Regions from separate parts of the Homo sapiens genome. Here regions 2, 3 and 4 are each linked to region 1. The links are contacts of gene promoters, found by promoter capture Hi-C in blood cells and fetal thymus (Javierre and others, 2016). All regions are on one chromosome and are shown on one strand. The core of a region is centred on a gene start or on the middle of the fragment in contact, and the rest is flanking DNA. Distances in the headings are between cores, read along the strand shown.

What was found. Contacts are between HindIII fragments. The CHiCAGO score rates a contact against its expected background, and 5 or more counts as called.
Region 2: a fragment that was not itself captured here is called in contact with the fragment with the promoter of ZNF207 in region 1 in 2 of 17 cell types (activated CD4 T cells and total CD4 T cells); the score reaches 5.1 in activated CD4 T cells.
Region 3: a fragment that was not itself captured here is called in contact with the fragment with the promoter of ZNF207 in region 1 in 2 of 17 cell types (erythroblasts and fetal thymus); the score reaches 12.8 in erythroblasts.
Region 4: a contact is called between a fragment that was not itself captured here and the fragment with the promoter of ZNF207 in region 1, in 1 of 17 cell types (erythroblasts). The highest score is 5.9, in erythroblasts.

What each region holds. Positions count from the first base shown.
Region 1 is chr17:32,348,207-32,352,384 of GRCh38, reverse strand. It overlaps ZNF207 (zinc finger protein 207), which reads right to left and starts at 2,228. Exons shown (of 12, transcript NM_001098507.2): 1 at 2,059-2,228; 2 at 473-599. The coding sequence starts at 2,099. MIR632 (microRNA 632) reads right to left here and starts at 2,276; the gene lies at 2,183-2,276. It also overlaps a transcript of C17orf75 not described here. RefSeq lists enhancers at 2,139-2,488, 2,659-2,778. The HindIII fragment of the contact is 13,651 bases long and covers 1-4,178 here.
Region 2 is chr17:31,862,507-31,866,684 of GRCh38, reverse strand. It overlaps UTP6 (UTP6 small subunit processome component), which reads left to right. Exons shown (of 19, transcript NM_018428.3): 18 at 1,247-1,319; 19 at 3,169-4,178. The coding sequence ends at 3,326. Among named protein-coding and RNA genes, the nearest start is that of COPRS, 5.4 kb to the right of the region's middle. The HindIII fragment of the contact is 3,468 bases long and covers 770-4,178 here.
Region 3 is chr17:31,943,045-31,947,222 of GRCh38, reverse strand. All of the region lies in intron 3 of SUZ12 (SUZ12 polycomb repressive complex 2 subunit), which reads right to left. Among named protein-coding and RNA genes, the nearest start is that of SUZ12, 8.1 kb to the right of the region's middle. The HindIII fragment of the contact is 1,554 bases long and covers 1,135-2,688 here.
Region 4 is chr17:31,964,741-31,968,918 of GRCh38, reverse strand. SUZ12 (SUZ12 polycomb repressive complex 2 subunit) reads right to left here. Exons shown (of 16, transcript NM_015355.4): 5 at 2,723-2,772. Among named protein-coding and RNA genes, the nearest start is that of SUZ12, 30 kb to the right of the region's middle. The HindIII fragment of the contact is 3,490 bases long and covers 46-3,535 here.

The DNA.
Region 1 (4,178 bases), core at 979-3,478:
GAACAAATTTTTTGTTTTTTTTAATGCTGATTGGCTATCTTATCTTTTGCAGTAAGTAAGTGAACAAAAAAAAAACAAAACTACAGTTGTCAGAGAAATAAATGATTATTCTTTCGGCCAGGCGCGGTGGCTCACGCCTGTAATCCCAGCACTCTGGGAGGCCCAGGTGGGTGGATCACCTGAGGTCAGGAGTTCGAGACCAGCCTGGCCAACATGGTGAAACCCCAGTCTCTACTAAAAATACAAAAAATTAGCCGGGCATGGTGGCGGCTGCCTGTAGTCCCAACTACTCCGGAGGCTGAGGCAGAAGAATAGCTTGAACCCGAGAGGCAGAGGTTGCAGTGGGCCGAGATTGCACCACTGCACTCCAGCTTGGGCGACAAGACCGAAACTCAAAAAAATAAAAAAGATTATTCTTTCAAGTTGTTTCCAAATCACAAGCGGACAATAAATACAGAAGAAAAATCCTTACCTGCATGCAATGAATAGCTAAGCCAGGTCCTGTATACAATTTCTTGTGACATATATGGCATTTAAAATGCTTTGCTTTTTGGTGCTGAATAAGGATCTTCTCATCATCAAAATCTCTATTACAATACCTGATCAATACTGTTAAGGCACAAAGACAGCCTAATGATGACACTGCCTATAATAAAAACATATGGATAACATTACAATATGGGAACAGCTAAAACCAAAATGGTACTGTATAGAAACTCTGCTTTTTATATTTATTACACAATTAGGGACTACACTTGCCATGTTATTTCAGTATTTTCAATTTCCTAGAAGGCCAGCTCTCTTCACCACCCCAAAAAACACATCTCAATAATCAGCAATATACTTTGTCAAATTCCTGTGTTTAACAGAGATGTCGGTGAAACTTTTGTTATAAATATTTCAACATTTACAAATGCACACTGAGGACAGGAAAGAGTTCAGTTAAGAAATCCCTAAGGTTCTGTCAAGACAATTACTTCACTAGATATGAAGACGATAGCAATAACTGGATTAGGAATTTAGCAATATTTAGAATCTAAGAGTAACTATATGGTGAACAATAATCACATAATTTCGAATGAACAATCCATAAAGTTGTTTCCAATTCCGTATGAATTTATGTTGCCAAGCAATGTATTTAAATTCACAGATCAATAAAATCAATAAAGCAGAATTCTTACATCAATAAAACAGAATTCTTACCTCACTACTCAGATTTTCCTAAAATCACATTACAAAATTCGTAACCGTATTTAAGCTATTTTTAAAACTGTTACATAAACGCAGTACTGTAACAAGCCGCCTTTACGTACAAAACAGTAAATAAAATCAATTTTAATGTAAAGAATATTAACGCTTCCAGAAAAAGCATTAATACCACACTGTAGTAAGAGTTTTCCTAATAAGATAGGCACTTTTTAGTCCTACAAAGTTGGGTAACAGAAACTCCGCCCTGTGAGAACGCTTCCTGAAGATTAAGGCGCCTCTGGGTGAGACACGGAAGCTAGTTCTCCTCCCGCCCCGAAAAGAAAAAAAAAAAAAAAAAGGTTCGAAACCAGGGTTGACTAACTTGGTTCTTTACTAAACCGCCAATTCGAAAAAATAAACACAAAACACACATAAAGTAAATAAAAACAGAAAAAGTGGGTGACAGACTGTGAAGCTGTCCCCAACCCTCCATGAAAGTAATAAGCCTATCGCACTCGAAGAAAAGTCCCTTGTTGAATCGTCACCAAAACAACGGAAGGTGGCTGAATAGTCCCTAGGGGACACTGTCCCTGGCGGAGGGGTCCAGGCCGCCTCCCGGAGTCCAAAATTCGCACCGAACAAGATCCTCCTGAGTCACAGAGTCACACGACCCACAACTGCAAAAGCCTGTCGACCTCGGAACCCCATTTTCCTAGAAGCCTTCCCAAGTCCAATCCCAGCCACCAGGCCACCCACGCAGACGCCTAAATACAAACGCTCCACGCCGTAAGCCAAATCCAGGCCTCCTAGTCCCAGGCCCCAACAACCGGCACCCCAACGCGACCTCGACTTCAAACCGACAAAGGATACCAGCACCACGGCTTCAGCTGCTTCTTCTTCTTGCGACCCATAACTGTGTTCTACCGGCAAAGTAAAAGGGAGGAGAAAAGAAGCAGGAGAAACGAGGCCAAAAATCCCTCACTTTCCCAACCCAACGGCTACCACCACGTCCCACAGGAAGCAGACACAAAATGGCCGACGGCCTCGTTCCCCGCTCCGCCTCCCGTCAAGCACTGCGGTAGGAGGCGGAGCCAAGAAGGGGAGGGTCACATGACGCAGACCTCCGCCCTGAGTGGGTGGGACTAAGAGGCGCGAAGAGGTGGCAGCCATCTTGTCCGTTTCAGAGTTTTTCGCTTTCGCTGGCTGTGCTTGCGGAGCACTTTGGGTTTCATTTGTAAAGGAGCCGGAGCCCCAGGTACGCTAAGGGGCATGCGAATGGAAAACAGAAAACAAAAAAACGGAAAAGATTGCCAGTGCAGTTAGGGCCGATCACAAATAAAGATAGAGACAGCGCCCAATTTTAATTTTGTTTCAATTGAACAGTAAATGTTGATTATGTGCCTATTAAATGCTAAACCAAATAAGTTAGTCTCTGCTTTGTAACTCGCAGATTGGTGACAGACGAGTACACAATGCAGAGTTCTCAGTGCGGCGTTGAGGGAAATGCGAAGTGCTGTAGGACCTCAGAGAGCGGGAGTCCTAGGGCGGCTGTAGTGGTAGTGGTCGTTGGGTTGTCAAGTAAAGTTTTGTTTTTCTTTGTTTTGTTTTATTTTTCTGAGACCAAGTCTCGCTCTGTCTCCCAGGCTGGAGTGCAGCGGCGCGATCTCTGCTCACTGCAACCTCCGTCTCCCGGGTTCAAGCGATTCTCCTACCTCAGCCTCCCGAGTAGCTGGGACTGCAGGCCCGCGCCACCAAGCCCGGCTAATTTTTGTATTTTTAGTAGAATGGGGTTTCACCATGTTAGCGAGGCTGGTCTCGAACTCCTGGGCTCAAGTGATCCGCCCGCCTCGGCCTCCCAAAGTGCTGGATTGCAGGCTTGAGCCGCTGCGCCCGACATAAGAAAGGTTTCTTGAGGAGTCAACGGGAGCAAGCAAGGTGAAGGAAAGGGTATCTCCGTAAGGGAGCAAAGAGTTTAAGTCTTTGAGGCTGGGCACGTGAAAAACTAATCGTGGTAAGACTGGAGCTGATAGCCGGGCGCGGTTGCTCACGCCAGTAATCCCAACACTATGGGCCAAGGCCGAGGCAGGCGGATCACTTGAGGTCAGGAGTTCGAGACCAGCCTGGCCGACATGGTGAAACCCTGTCTCTACTAAAAATACAAAAATTAGCCAGGCGTAGTGGCAGGCGCCTGTAACCTCAGCTACTCGGGAGAATGAGGCAGGAGAATCACTTGGACCTGGGAGGTGAAGGTTGCAGTGAGCCGAGATCTCGCCATTGCATTCCAGCCTGGGTGACAGAGTGAGACTCCGTCTCAAAAAAAAAAAAAAAAGACTGGAGCTGTCAGTGAAGGTGCTGGTCACAAGAGATAATCCTAGGGAGGCTAGCAAAGGCGGGTTCTGGCGAACCCTAGAAGCATTCTCAGAAGTTGGATTTCAGCTGAAGTCTCTGAGAAGGCACAGTGGTTCTAAGAGGGCAACTGGAGGATCATGCAAGTGAGAGGTGGTTAAAAGTCCAGTGCTTGGGTTCATAGTCCACCAGTGCCACTGCTTAGCTGCCTGACTTTGGGCAAGGCAGTTAAACTTCATCTTGGCTGCACTTAAAACAGAGCTTAGCATATAATAATAACTAGTAATGTAAATTATGTTACTATTAAAAGCAAAAAATAATAGCAGACATCCATGGAGCACCTACCGTGTGCCAAGCATTGTAGTGAGTTTTAACATTATTTGTCTCAGCCTCTGGGGTAGGAGCCATTATTGTCAACTTGTTAATAGAGATGAGATAAAAGAGACTTAAGAGAGCTGGAATAATTTGCCCCAAAACACAAAGTATGTGTGGAGCTGAATTAAATTTGAATTTTAAAGGATCAGTTTGGGCTGTGCGCAGTGGCTCACACCTGTAATCCCAGCACTGTGGGAGGCTGAGGCGGGTGGATCACCTGAGATCAGGAGTTGAAGACCAGCCTGGCCAACATGGTGAAACCCGGTCTT
Region 2 (4,178 bases), core at 1,254-3,753, 490 kb after region 1:
TCTTGGCTCACTGCAACCTCTGCTTCCCAGGTTCAAGCAATTCTCTTGCCTCAGCCTCCTGAGTAGCTAGGATTACAGGCATGCACCACCATGCCTGGCTAATTTTTGTATTTTTAGTAGGGACAGGGTTTCACCATGTTGACCAGGCTGGTCTTGAACTCCTGACCTTGTGATCCACCTGCCTTGCCTCAGCCTCCCAAAGTGCTGGGATTACAGGTGTGAGCCACCGCGCCTGGCCCTAATTTTTGTATTTTTTGTAGAGACTGGTTTCACCACGTTGGCCAGGCTGGTCTCAACTCCTGACCTTGTGATCTGCCTGCCTTGGCCTCCCAAAGTACTGGGATTACAGGCATGAGCCACTGCACCCGGCAAGAATACTTTTTTTTTTTTTTTTTTTTGAGACAGAGTCTCGCTCTGTCGCCCAGGCTGGAGTGTAGTGGCGCGATCTCGGCTCACTGCAAGCTCCACCTCCTAGGTTCACGCCGTTCTCCTGCCTCAGCCTCCTGAGTAGCTGGGACTACAGGCACCCGCCACCACGCCTGGCTAATTTTTTGTATTTTCAGTAGAGACGGGGTTTCACTGTTGTAGCCAGGATGGTCTCGATCTCCTGACCGTGTGAGCCACCGTGCCCGGCAAGAATACATTTTTAAAAATAGGTGGAGAATGAGCAGTTTTTGGTTGTAAAGTTAGTTACAGCTATTCTGCTAGGTACATAATTCATCAGCATTTTAATCTAATACTTATAGTTGTGCTAAGAGATATTAAAGCTTGTTTTATAGGTGAGGAAATGTTTAAGGTCAAAGGGTTCAAAAACTTGCTGAAGGTCATATAACTAGTATTTATTTTAAGGTGGATATAACAAATAAGTACCAGAGCCCAGATATTCAAAAGGAAGAAATCCTTACTCAAAGCGAATAGAACCTTCGCTGTTTCTTTATTTAATTCCCACTCATTCCTCAAGACTTTCAAATACTGTTTTCTGTGAAGCTGCCCATGTCCCCCACTTTTTTCTAATAGCACTTTTCTCCATGCTACTACAGCAAAGTGCTTTTATGTTTCACATATGTACTTCACTCTGTTGAGTGGCTTTGATTTTTTTCCTAGAAAAGTTGAGAGCCAAGTTGTGTTCATGTTAAACTCTTCCCTTCAAATACCTGACAGACAGTAGCTGCTTAACAATATGGTTGGAATGAATTTGTTATGTTATAAATCAGGCTTTTGAGACAAGATTGTCTATCTTTGTCAGGAATCCTGCAATATGGCGAACATAAGAGAATATTATGAGAGAGCTTTGAGAGAGTTTGGATCCGCAGATTCTGGTAAGTAAACCCTTAATTTGTGACCAATTAGTATGGTTAGAACAGTGTTTCTTGGCTGAGTACAGTGGCTCATGCCTGTAATCCCAGCACTTTGGGAGGCCAAGGCAGGCGGATCACCTGAGGTCAGGAGTTCGAGACCAGCCTGGCCAATATGGTGAAACCCCGTCTCTACTAAAATAAAAATTAGCTGGACATGGTGGTGCGCACCTGTAATCCCTGCCTGGGAGGCTGAGGCAGGAGAATCGCTTGAGCCTGGGAGACGGAGGTTGCAGTGAGCTGAGATTATACCATTGCACTCCAGCCTGGGCAACAACAGTGAAACTCCGTCTCAAAAACAAACAAACAAACAAACAAAACTGTTTCTTAGTTTTTTGATTTGCATCATAACCCTCTTTTAAAATAAAACTTGTTTCCTTCCTCTGCCTCCTCACTTGCTTTGTGTATACTATCATTTCAGGATCATAAGTTCAGGGGTCCATGGGTCGTCTGTTAAGAACCCTAGATTTCTCAGGAGCCTGAGACCAGCCTGGGCAACATATTTAGATCCCCATCTCTACAAACAATAAAAAAAAAAAAGTAACTGGGTATGGTGGTGCATGCTTGTGGTCCCAGCTACACAGCAGGCTGAGGTGCGAGGATTGTTTGGGCCCCAGGATGTTGAGGCTGCAATGACTGTGATGCCACCATTGTACTCCAGCCTGGGCAATACAATGAGATCCTGTCTCAAAAACAAAAACCAAAAACACCCCCTCTGGATTAGAGAAAGATTTGCATGGTTTTGTTTTCTTAAAAAAAATGTATTTAGAGTTACATGAAAGGGGTAAACGTGAGATGCTAATTGGCGTCTGTTGTTGACTATCTCCACATTGCCCTCATTTGTAGGACTTGTACAACATACTTCTGGGTATAGGTATGTCATGTAAAATCTGTGGACTTTGTGAACTCATAAACATTGATTTGTTTATTTTTATTTTGTTTTGAGACAGAGTCTCACTCTGTCACCCAGGCTGGAGTGCAGTGGCGCAATCTTGCCTCACTGCAATCTCTGCCTCCCAGATTCAAGCGATTCTCGTGCCTCAGCCTCCCAAGTAGCTGGGAGTACAGGCACGCGTGCCACCATGCTCGGCTAATTTTTGTATTTTCAGTCGAGATGGAGTTTCGCCATGCTGGCTAGGCTGGTCTTGAACTCTTGACCTCAGGTGATCCGCCCGCCTTGGCCTCCCAAAGTGCCGGGATTACAGGTGTGAACCACTGTGCCTAGCCAAAAAGTTTAGTATTTTTGAGTTCATTGAATAAAATAGACTTTTATGATTGATGTGAAGGTTTTCTACTGGGAAAAAAAACAAAAAACAAAAAAACAAAACTGATGAGGCACAGTGGCTCACGCCTGTAATCCCAGCACTTTGGAAGGCCAAGGTAGAAGGATTGCTTGAGCCCAGGAGTTCAAGACTAGCCTGGGCAATATAGTGAAACCCTGTTTCTACAAAAAATAAAAAAATTAGCCTAATATGGTGGTGTGCCTGTGTTCCCAGCTGCCCTGGAGGCTGAGGCAGGAGGGTCACTTGAACTCAGGAGGTTGAGACTGTAGTAAGCCATGTTCCCGCTACTACACTCTAGCCGGGGCAACACAGTGAGACCCTGTCTCAAAAAAGAAAAAAACACACAAAAACAAACCAAAACCTGCCACTATACTTTAAAGAAGCTAAGAGAGGTATTGTTAAACAAAGCGTCCTAGGGAAGTAACAATGAGAAGTTAAGTTTCTTAGAAATCTTGAGTTGAATTGATATTTAATAAGGTTACCTAATAACACTCTGTCAGTTATCTAATTGTATGTTTTTTTTTTAAAAGATCTTTGGATGGATTATATGAAAGAAGAATTGAACCACCCCCTTGGTAGACCTGAGAACTGTGGACAGATCTACTGGCGAGCGATGAAAATGTTGCAGGGAGAGTCAGCAGAGGCATTTGTAGCTAAACATGCTATGCATCAGACTGGCCATTTATGAAGATGAAGAATACAGTCAGCTTTGTGAAATAGTATTGCAAGCAAGCCCCGTGGGCAAATTTGTATTGAGTCCATCTGTAATTTGCTCAGTGATGGCAGACAAGATGGCTGTCTGGTTTTGAGACACACTTTAATTTTATGTTAACTTGTTAAATCTTTTTAAAAATTAAAAAATTTTTATGATTGAGACTGGGTCTTGCTCTGTTGCCCTGGCTGGTCTTGAACTCCTGGACTCAAGTGACCTTCTCACCTCAGACTCCTGAGTAGCTGGGATTATAGGTGCATGACACTGCTCAGTTTGATGTGCTAATCTGATTCCAGTAAAGAGAATTGCTGATTTAATGTTGAGGCCCGATCTTCCACAGGTCCTAAATGTTTCCCAAAATACATGGATAGCATACGACTGGGTTTTTTTAAAATTATCCCAGGTCAAGCATGAGTATCTCTAATCTCGACCTAAGAGCCAGTTAAAATGAAGGAGAAAGTGGCCAGGCATGGTGACTCAACGCCTGTAATCCCAGCACTTTGGGAAGGCTGAGGCAGGCGGATCACCTGAGGTCAGGAGTTTGAGACTAGCCTGGCCAACATGGTGAAACCCCGTCTCTACTAAAAATACAAAAATTAGCCAGGTGTGGTGGTGGGTGCCTGTAATCCCAGCTGCTTGGGAGGCTGAGGCAGGAGAATTGCTTGAACCTGGGAGACGGAGGTTGCAGTGAGCCGAGATCATGCCATTGCTACTCCATCCTGGGTAAGAAGAGCGAAACTCCTTCTCAAGGAAAAAAAAAAAGGAGAAAGTACAGTTTTGTTGGTTTATTCTCATTATAAAAGATACGTGGTATGCATTTGTTCTGGA
Region 3 (4,178 bases), core at 662-3,161, 400 kb after region 1:
CAAGGAAAGCTATGCAGTGCTGGCATAGTGCCTTATACTTGGTAGGTATTCAAGTATCTGTTGAATTAAGCCAAACAAATATAAATTATGTGTATTCTGAAACACTTAACACGTCTACTAAGCAACACAACAAATATGTACTAGCACCATCACATAAAAAAAGAAATATTCTATAAAATATATTTGAAGTTCACAAGGTATCCTCAAAGATTATCAGCAAAGCCTAAAGCTCAATGATATGTCATATTAAAGAGACAGTTGTTGACATCATGAAAAAATTTTGAAGTTAGGGAATGATCCATCAAATCGTAATAAAACTACTACCTTTTAACTTGACAAGTTTAAGAGAAAAAAGCTATTTCCCAAAAAATAGAAACTTAAGTATAACTTCTCAAAGCAATTAAAGAATGAATGGATTGTAAAAACAAGCCTCATCTTAGTTCTTAAGGTGGTCTATGACATGTTCTAGAGATAAGAGTCTAAAAATCTATACCCATATATAATTTAATTAGAAAAAATGTTTCTCTTTATACTCATATAGTCCCTTCCTCTTTAGGACTTGAAAAGCCAAATGTACTCCACATCAATTTATTACTTTATAATGCTTGAATGCAGACACCAAAAATTACGAATAATCTCATTCCTCAAAGAGAGTTTTGTGTTTGTTTGTTTTTGTTTGTTTTGTTTTTGAGATGGGAGTGTCACTCTTGTTGCCCAGGCTGGAGTACAATGACGTGATCTCGGCTCACTGCAACCTCCACCTCCCGGGTTCAGGCAATTCTCCTGCCTCAGCCTCCCGAGTAGCTGGGACTACAGGTGTGCACCACCACGCCTGGCTAATTTTTGCATTTTGTAGAGACAGGGTTTCACCATGTTGGTCAGGCTGGTCTTGAACTCCTCACCTCAGGTGATCTATCCACCCCTGTCTCCCAAAGTGCTAGGATTAAAGGTGTGAGCCACCATGCCTGGCCAAAAAAGAGCTATTTATTGTATTCAACTACTGTAAAAATTATCAGTAGAGAAATGTTAATGTAAATATAGTAAACTACTGATATTAGAGCAGAATTGATACAATCTATATTTCAAGTGAATGAGAAGAGCCTCCATAGTAAAGATCTTAAGGGAAAAAAAGCTTCTCTCTTTACCTTTAGAGTTACTGAAAACTTCAATATTAAAGTTTCATCCAATAGAGTATAGTAAGAAGCGCTTTCTGAAGGATGGCAATATATTTTCAATCTCCACAGATAAGAGAGAAAAAAGAACAAAAATAAAGGACTCTTTTAGGCTAGTTGCAAAGAGCTATTCAGTATAAATACTGAAAGTTACTATTGAGGAGGGCCATGAAACTACTGAAAACTTTTCCGAATAATGTTTATGTAATGATTAAGAAATTCTGTCTGCAGAAAAAGACTGTACGTTCTAAGGTTCATCTCTTCTACCTTTATGAAGCTGTATACAGGAGAAGTGAATAGAATTGATTAACCATTTGAAATAGATAAGATCACAAAAGCAACCCAGCCTTCCTTAGGAAAAAAACAAAACCAACCTCATAAGCAACTATATAAAAGCTGCTCCTCCCCCAACACCAAGGATTTCTGTTCTTTAGAAAGGTAATGTTACTGTAGGTCAGATTTAAAGAAGGAAATAATTATCAAAAGGTCATCGAAAAGGAGCATATTTAAAAATTCAAGAAATTTCAGAAAATTTTCTTGGGAGACTTCAGAAACAGCTCACACGAAATCTAGCAAAATGGATTCAATAAAAGATGCCCTTCTCGTGACCTATATTTTTACTTTGTTGGGGCAGTGTTAGCCTATAGAAGTTGAATACTTCTAGAAAGAGTAAAGCACAAGCTGACTTTAATAAATATACCAGAATTAATATCACGACTGAGAGTATGACTTTAAAGGGAGTGATATGCTTATTCCAACAATGGATATTATGTTGTTGTAATAGTAAAAAACGAGTTCTGAAAACATTTTGAGAAACGACAATCACTGGGCTAAATCTGCCACCTTCCAAAGTCACCAACTACGCTGAAGACAACAGCAAATGAGTTGTGCTTTAATTTCTTAATAATTAGTCCTAATAAGTAATAAGATCAGGCATCTAACAAGATGATTAAATGATTCCCATACTTTTTTTTTTTTTTTTTTTTTTTGAGACACCATCTCCCTCTACTGCCCAGGCTAGAGTGCACCGGCACATTCATAGCAACCTTCGAACTTCTGGGCTCAGGTGATCCTCCTGCCTCAGCCTCCTGAGTATTTGGGACTATAGTCATGAGCCACCACGCCCAGCTAATTTTTTAAAATTTTTGTAGATATAGGGTCTCACTATGTTGCCAGGGCTGACCTATAACTCTCGCCTTTAAATGTAAACTTGTTCACTTGATACGCTCAAATAAATATAATCTTGCACCCAGGACAAAAAACTTGCATTCATAATTACGTAAGGTTAAGTACTAAATGTTACACAAGCAATCCTCCTAACTCAGTCTCCCGAAATGCTGAAATTACAGGTCTGAAACACCATGCCTAGCCTATTCCTACCCATTTCTGTAGGAACTAAACTAGGTGGGACTTAAATTTGCTTCTTGGCTGGCAGATTGCTTAAAAATTCCCCAGACTTTTTTTTTTTAACCTAAAGGGCAATAATTAAGAAAATCAGTTCTTACTTAACCAAGCTTTTAAAATTATCTCTACCCATGCGGACAACAGAAACATATCCTGCAATGGGACAAATTAATAAACATGACGGGAAAATGGAACTTAGATTTTAAATGTGTACTTTTTAGCAGGACGTGGTGTTTCACACCTGTAATCCCAGCACTTTGGGAGTCCGAGGTGGGCAGATCACCTGAGGTCGGGAGTTCGAGACCAGCCTGACCAACATGGAGAAACCCCATCTCTCCTAAAAATACAAAATGAGCCAGGCATGGTGGCGCATGCCTGTAATCCCAGCTACTCGGGAGGCTGAGGCAGGAGAATCACTTGAACCCAGGAGGTGGAAGTGGCAGTGAGCCAAGATTGCACCATTGCACTCCAGCCTGGGCAACAAGAGCGAAACTCCATCTCAAAAAAAAATAATAATAATAAAATAAATGTGTACTTTTTAATCTATGAATGCAAACTTATTTTATAATAATTTAATTACTTTGTAAATTAAGATCAGGTTGCATCCTAGGCAGCAACTCAACTGACCTTCTATATTAAAAATGCTTTGATGGCCAGGCACGGTGGCTCACGACTGTAATCCCAGCACTTTGGGAGGCCAAGGCAGGCGGATCATGAGGTCAGGAGTTTGAGACCAGCCTGACCAACATGGTGAAACCCTGTCTCTACTAAAAATACAAAAATTAGCTGGGTGTAGTGCCACACGCCTGTAATCCCAGCTACTCAGGAGGCTGAGGCAGAATTGCTTGAACTTGGGAGGCGAAGACTGCAGTGAGCCGAAATTGCGCCACGGCACTCCAGCCTAGACGACAGAGCAAGACTCTGTCTCAAAAAAAAAAAAGCTTTGATGAAACAAAACAGTTAGTCGAATTCTACTAGTTTTATAGAATAAATCAAGGGTGGGGAAACTATGGACCATGGTCAAATCTGGCCTATCGCCTGTTTTTGTACAGCCCGGAAGGTAAGAACGGTTTTTACAGATAAACATTAGCAATCGATTTGATTACAGAAAACACTAACTCTGAACCCCAATTCAGCTAAATGTTATCTCCCCTACCCTCACAAAAATAAAATTCTCATTTCTCATTTGTAGGCCTGTATTACAAAATGTTCTATCTTATATTGTTGTATTTTAATCAACAAAAAATTTACAGATTGACATTTCGGACTGAAATTTTAAAAAACTGTAAATTTTTTCTTTCTTTTAAAATTAAGTACCTACATAATATCCTCAATTTTGCACCCTGGCCGCAAAGCCTAAAATAATTACTATTTACTGGTCCTTTACAGAAAAAGCATGCTGAATGCTGGCAAAAATCAAATAATGGAGTAGACAGGTAAAGGGTGGACAAAACTAATTCTGTAACCTAATTCATCACCTCCTTTTTAGTTACTTAGGTGCTCAGCAATTTTCACCTATTAACTGCAATGCAAACTTGCTCATGCACGCTCTCTATTCAGAAAGATTGCCAAAAGACAAATAATTTTCACAATTCAATCCTT
Region 4 (4,178 bases), core at 541-3,040, 380 kb after region 1:
ATTGTTGAACTTTATATATTTTGTCATGAAGATAGGAAAAAAGCTTAATATGACTACTTTCCAAAAATTTCAGTGATGGATAAACTATGTGTTCTACACAGGTCCCTGAGAACAAAGGGCTAATGAATGTATAAAATTCAAATTATAAGTTTCTGAAGAATTAAAGTCTAGACACGTCAGAAGTACCACAGAAAACAAAATACGATGACTAGAAATAAGGACTCTAAGCAGACCATTACAAATAATTTAAGGAAAACAAAAACCGTAATGCTACCCAGGTTACTTCTATATAAAAAATAGACCAGATCTAAGGTAAAAACTAGAAGTTACATTAGCTGCTAATACAAATACGAGATTTCAAATTTCTTACATAAAAACCCTAACTAGGGCCAGTCTCAGTGGCTCACACCTGTAATCCCCGCACTTTGGGAGACTGAGGTGAGAGGATCACTTGAGACCAGGAGTTTGAGACCAGCCTGGGAAATGTAGTGAGATTCCATCTTAACAAAAAAAATTTTTTTTAATTAGCCAGGCATGGTGGGAACGCCTGTAGTTCCAGCTACTCAGGAGGCTGAGGCAGGAGGATCACTTGAGCCCAGGAGTTGATCACACCACTGCACTCCAGCCTGGGTGACACGAGCAAGACCCTGTCTAAACAAACAAACAACCCCCAAAGAGTCATTAAAAAATGGTTATATTAGAGCATTTTGACAATTGGCCAATTGGCAAGGTTGTCTTTTTGTCTTTTTTAGACAGTGTCTCACTCTGTCACTCAGGCTGGAGTACAGTGGTGTGATCTTGGCTCACTGCAGCCTCAACCTCCAAGACTCAAGCAATCCTCCCACCTCAGCCTCCTGAGTAGCTGAGACTACAGAATAGCTGGGACTACAGGCATGTGCCACTGTGCCCAGTTAATCTTTTTTTACTTCTTACAGACAGGTTCTCCCTATGTTGCCCAGGCAAGCCTCAAGCTATTCTTCCATCTCAGCCTCCCAAGGTGTTGACGTTATAGCTGTGAGCCACCACGCCCAGTCTAATATTTGGGATTTTTTGGAGACAAGGTCTCACTCTGTTGCCCAGCCTGGAGTAGAGTTGTGCAATCATAGCTCACTGTAACCTTGAATTCCTGAGCTTACGCCATCCTGCCATCTTGGACTTCCAAGTACCTAGAACTACAGGACATACCACCATACCTGGCTAATTTTTGTAGAGATGGGGTCTGTGTTGCCCAGGCTGGTCTTGAAGTCCTGGCCTCAAGTCATCTTCCCACCTCAGCCTCCCAAAATGCTGAGATTACAGACATGAGCCACCAGGCCAGGACTCATTTTCTTTTTCTTTTTTTTTAGACAGAGTCTCGCTCTGTCACCAGGCTGGAGTGCCACTGGTGACACTACAGGTGTGCACCACGACACCCAGCTAGTTTTTTTGTATTTTAGTAGAGACGGGGTTTCACCATGTTAGCCAGGATAGTCTCGATCTCCTGACCTTGTGATCCACCCGCCTCAGCCTCCCAAAGTGCTGGGATTACAGGCGTGAGCCACCGTGCCCGGCCCACCAGGACTCATTTTCAATCTTTGTTTCTTACTAAACGATACCAAGACAACCAACCTGGCATGTTTCTAATAATGGTTTTATTCCATTGCATAATAAAAAGATATGCCATATACACAGACTTATGATGGATAAGCTGATAAGTGATTTTCCCTTTTTTTTTTTTTTTGAGATGGAGTCTCGCTCTGTCGCCCAGGCTGGAGTGCAGTAACGCAATCTCAGCTCATTGCAACCTCCGACTCTCAGGTTCAAGTGATTCTTCTGCCTAAGTCTCCCAAGTAACTGGGACTACAGGCACCCACCACCACGCCTGGCTAATGTTTATATTTTTAGTAGAGATGGGGTTTCATCATATTGGCCAGCTGAACTCCTGAACTCCTGAACATCCTGAACTCCTGACCTCATGATACACCCGCCTCAGCCTCCCAAAATGTTGGGATTACAGGCGTGAGCCACTGCGCCTGGCCGTATTTTTCCATTTTTAAAACAACTCTAATTCTTTCCAGCATGCTTTGAGCTTTTACTGGAGTAATATACCATATAATTTCCTTTGAATAATATCTAAAATATTAATATATGCCATTGGTAATAGTGGTTATTTCAGTTGTTTTACTGTGTTTTTTTAAAACATGATACAGTATCATTAATTCAAAATGTTTATGCATAAAAGGTTCTACTGAGGAGATTCTTTACCTATTGAAGTTCTAAGACAATTTGTTAAAATCTTCATCATTAGCCAGGCGTGGTGGCTCACGCCCCCTTGGGAGGCCAAGGCGGGTGGATCACGAGGTCAGGAGTTCAAGACCAGCCTGGCCAGCATGGTGAGACCCTGTCTCTACTAAAAATACAAAAAATTAGCCAGGCATGGGGCACGTGCCTGTAATCCCAGCTACTCAGGAGGCTGAGGCAGGAGAATCGCTTGAACCCGGGAGGTGGAGGCTGCAGTCAGCCAAGATCATAACATTGCACTCCAGCCTTCACTCTGCACCCCCATCCACCAAAAACAAATTTCATCATTAGCCTTCATACCTTAAAGTTCAAAAACATCAGAACCAACATATTTTCCATTAAACTTAATTTTATAAATTTACACTCAGAAGCCCCACTTTTTTTACATTCACAAAGGTATCTTGCTATTAAAATGCCACTTTATTTACTTTTAAATACATACCATTTTTGTGGAAGAAACCAGTAAACGTAAGCTGCAAATGAGCTGACAAGCTAAAAAAAAAAAAAAGGAAATATTTTATCATTGTAATGCTCTGTAGTAAAATAACCTAGACTTTAAAATATAACATTGAAATCAAAGTTACTTCAACCAATTTATAAATATTTGTACTCAACTGTTATTCAGGCCCATGACTCTATGCTTTCCCTGTTAAATATGACATCCAAAAGTGTGTCTATACACCTAACAAAAAATAAACAACAAAAAACCCCTCACAACTCACAAAAAGTAAGAACAAAACCACAAAAACACCAGACCAAGGCAGAAAAAAATCAGACTACCAAGTTGGAGGCCAGGTAATTTACTGTGTTTTAGTGTTCTACCTATAAAATGACAGCAGGTATGCCTTCCTATCTTTAAAAAGGAATTTTGGAGGGTTTTTGGAATTCTTTTTTTGTTTTGTTTTAATGACGCTTTAGTCAATGACTTCATCAAAAGGAAATTTTGAAAAGCGTAGCTAAATCCATGCAAAAAAATTTGAATATTTTGAAGCTATGGAAATTCAACCTTCCCAATAAATGATACAGAACCATTACTTTATACTTCAAATAGCAATGAAATACACAATTACAAATCTGGTATAGATCTATAATTTACTGTTTCAATATATCATTTTCACTGTTAGTTTTAGAAGCTATGGAAAAGCAAAAGCAAGCATGAACTAGAACTAGTGCTCCTTCTATTTTCACAAACATCTATTAACAATAGAAAAAAACAATAAGCATGGGATAAAATAAACAGAAGCATCAATAAGCTTTTGAAGTACCTTTAAACTGCAAAACACAATACAGTTGTTGATCAGGAGACATTCATAACTCTCCTGAGCATAGTTTCCATAGTGTGACATGTACAGACACCAGATTATGGAGGGCTATACAGAACAGATGGTGGGGAAAGGAAAGCAGTACTGATCCCTTACATAAGGCATTTACTAATGAAATAGTTGCTGGGCACTAAGGACTAGTAAAGGGCATATATATATATTTTTTTTTTAAATGATGGTGACAATCTAGGCATTTTTATAGTCAGATGGGAACAGTTACAGAAAGACATTGTGGCAAGAGAGTACTAAGGAACAAGTAATGACTGGAAATAAGGACATATTATGAAGAGGTTGCCCTGTAAATTTGACCAGGACTCCTCTTTTTCTTTTTTTTGAGATGAAGTTTCGCTCTTCTCGCCCAGGTTGGAGTGCAATGGCGCAATCTTGGCTCACTACAACCTCCGCCTCCCGAGTTCAAGCGATTCTCCTGCCTCAGCCTCCCAAGTAGCTGGGATTATAGGTGTGAGCCACCGAGCCCGACTGGATTCCTCTTTTTCTAAGATAGAGAAATAAGAGGCAAGTAAGAAAGACATTTCCATGGAAGATGGGGGGATATCTCCATCTACTTAGTGAAGT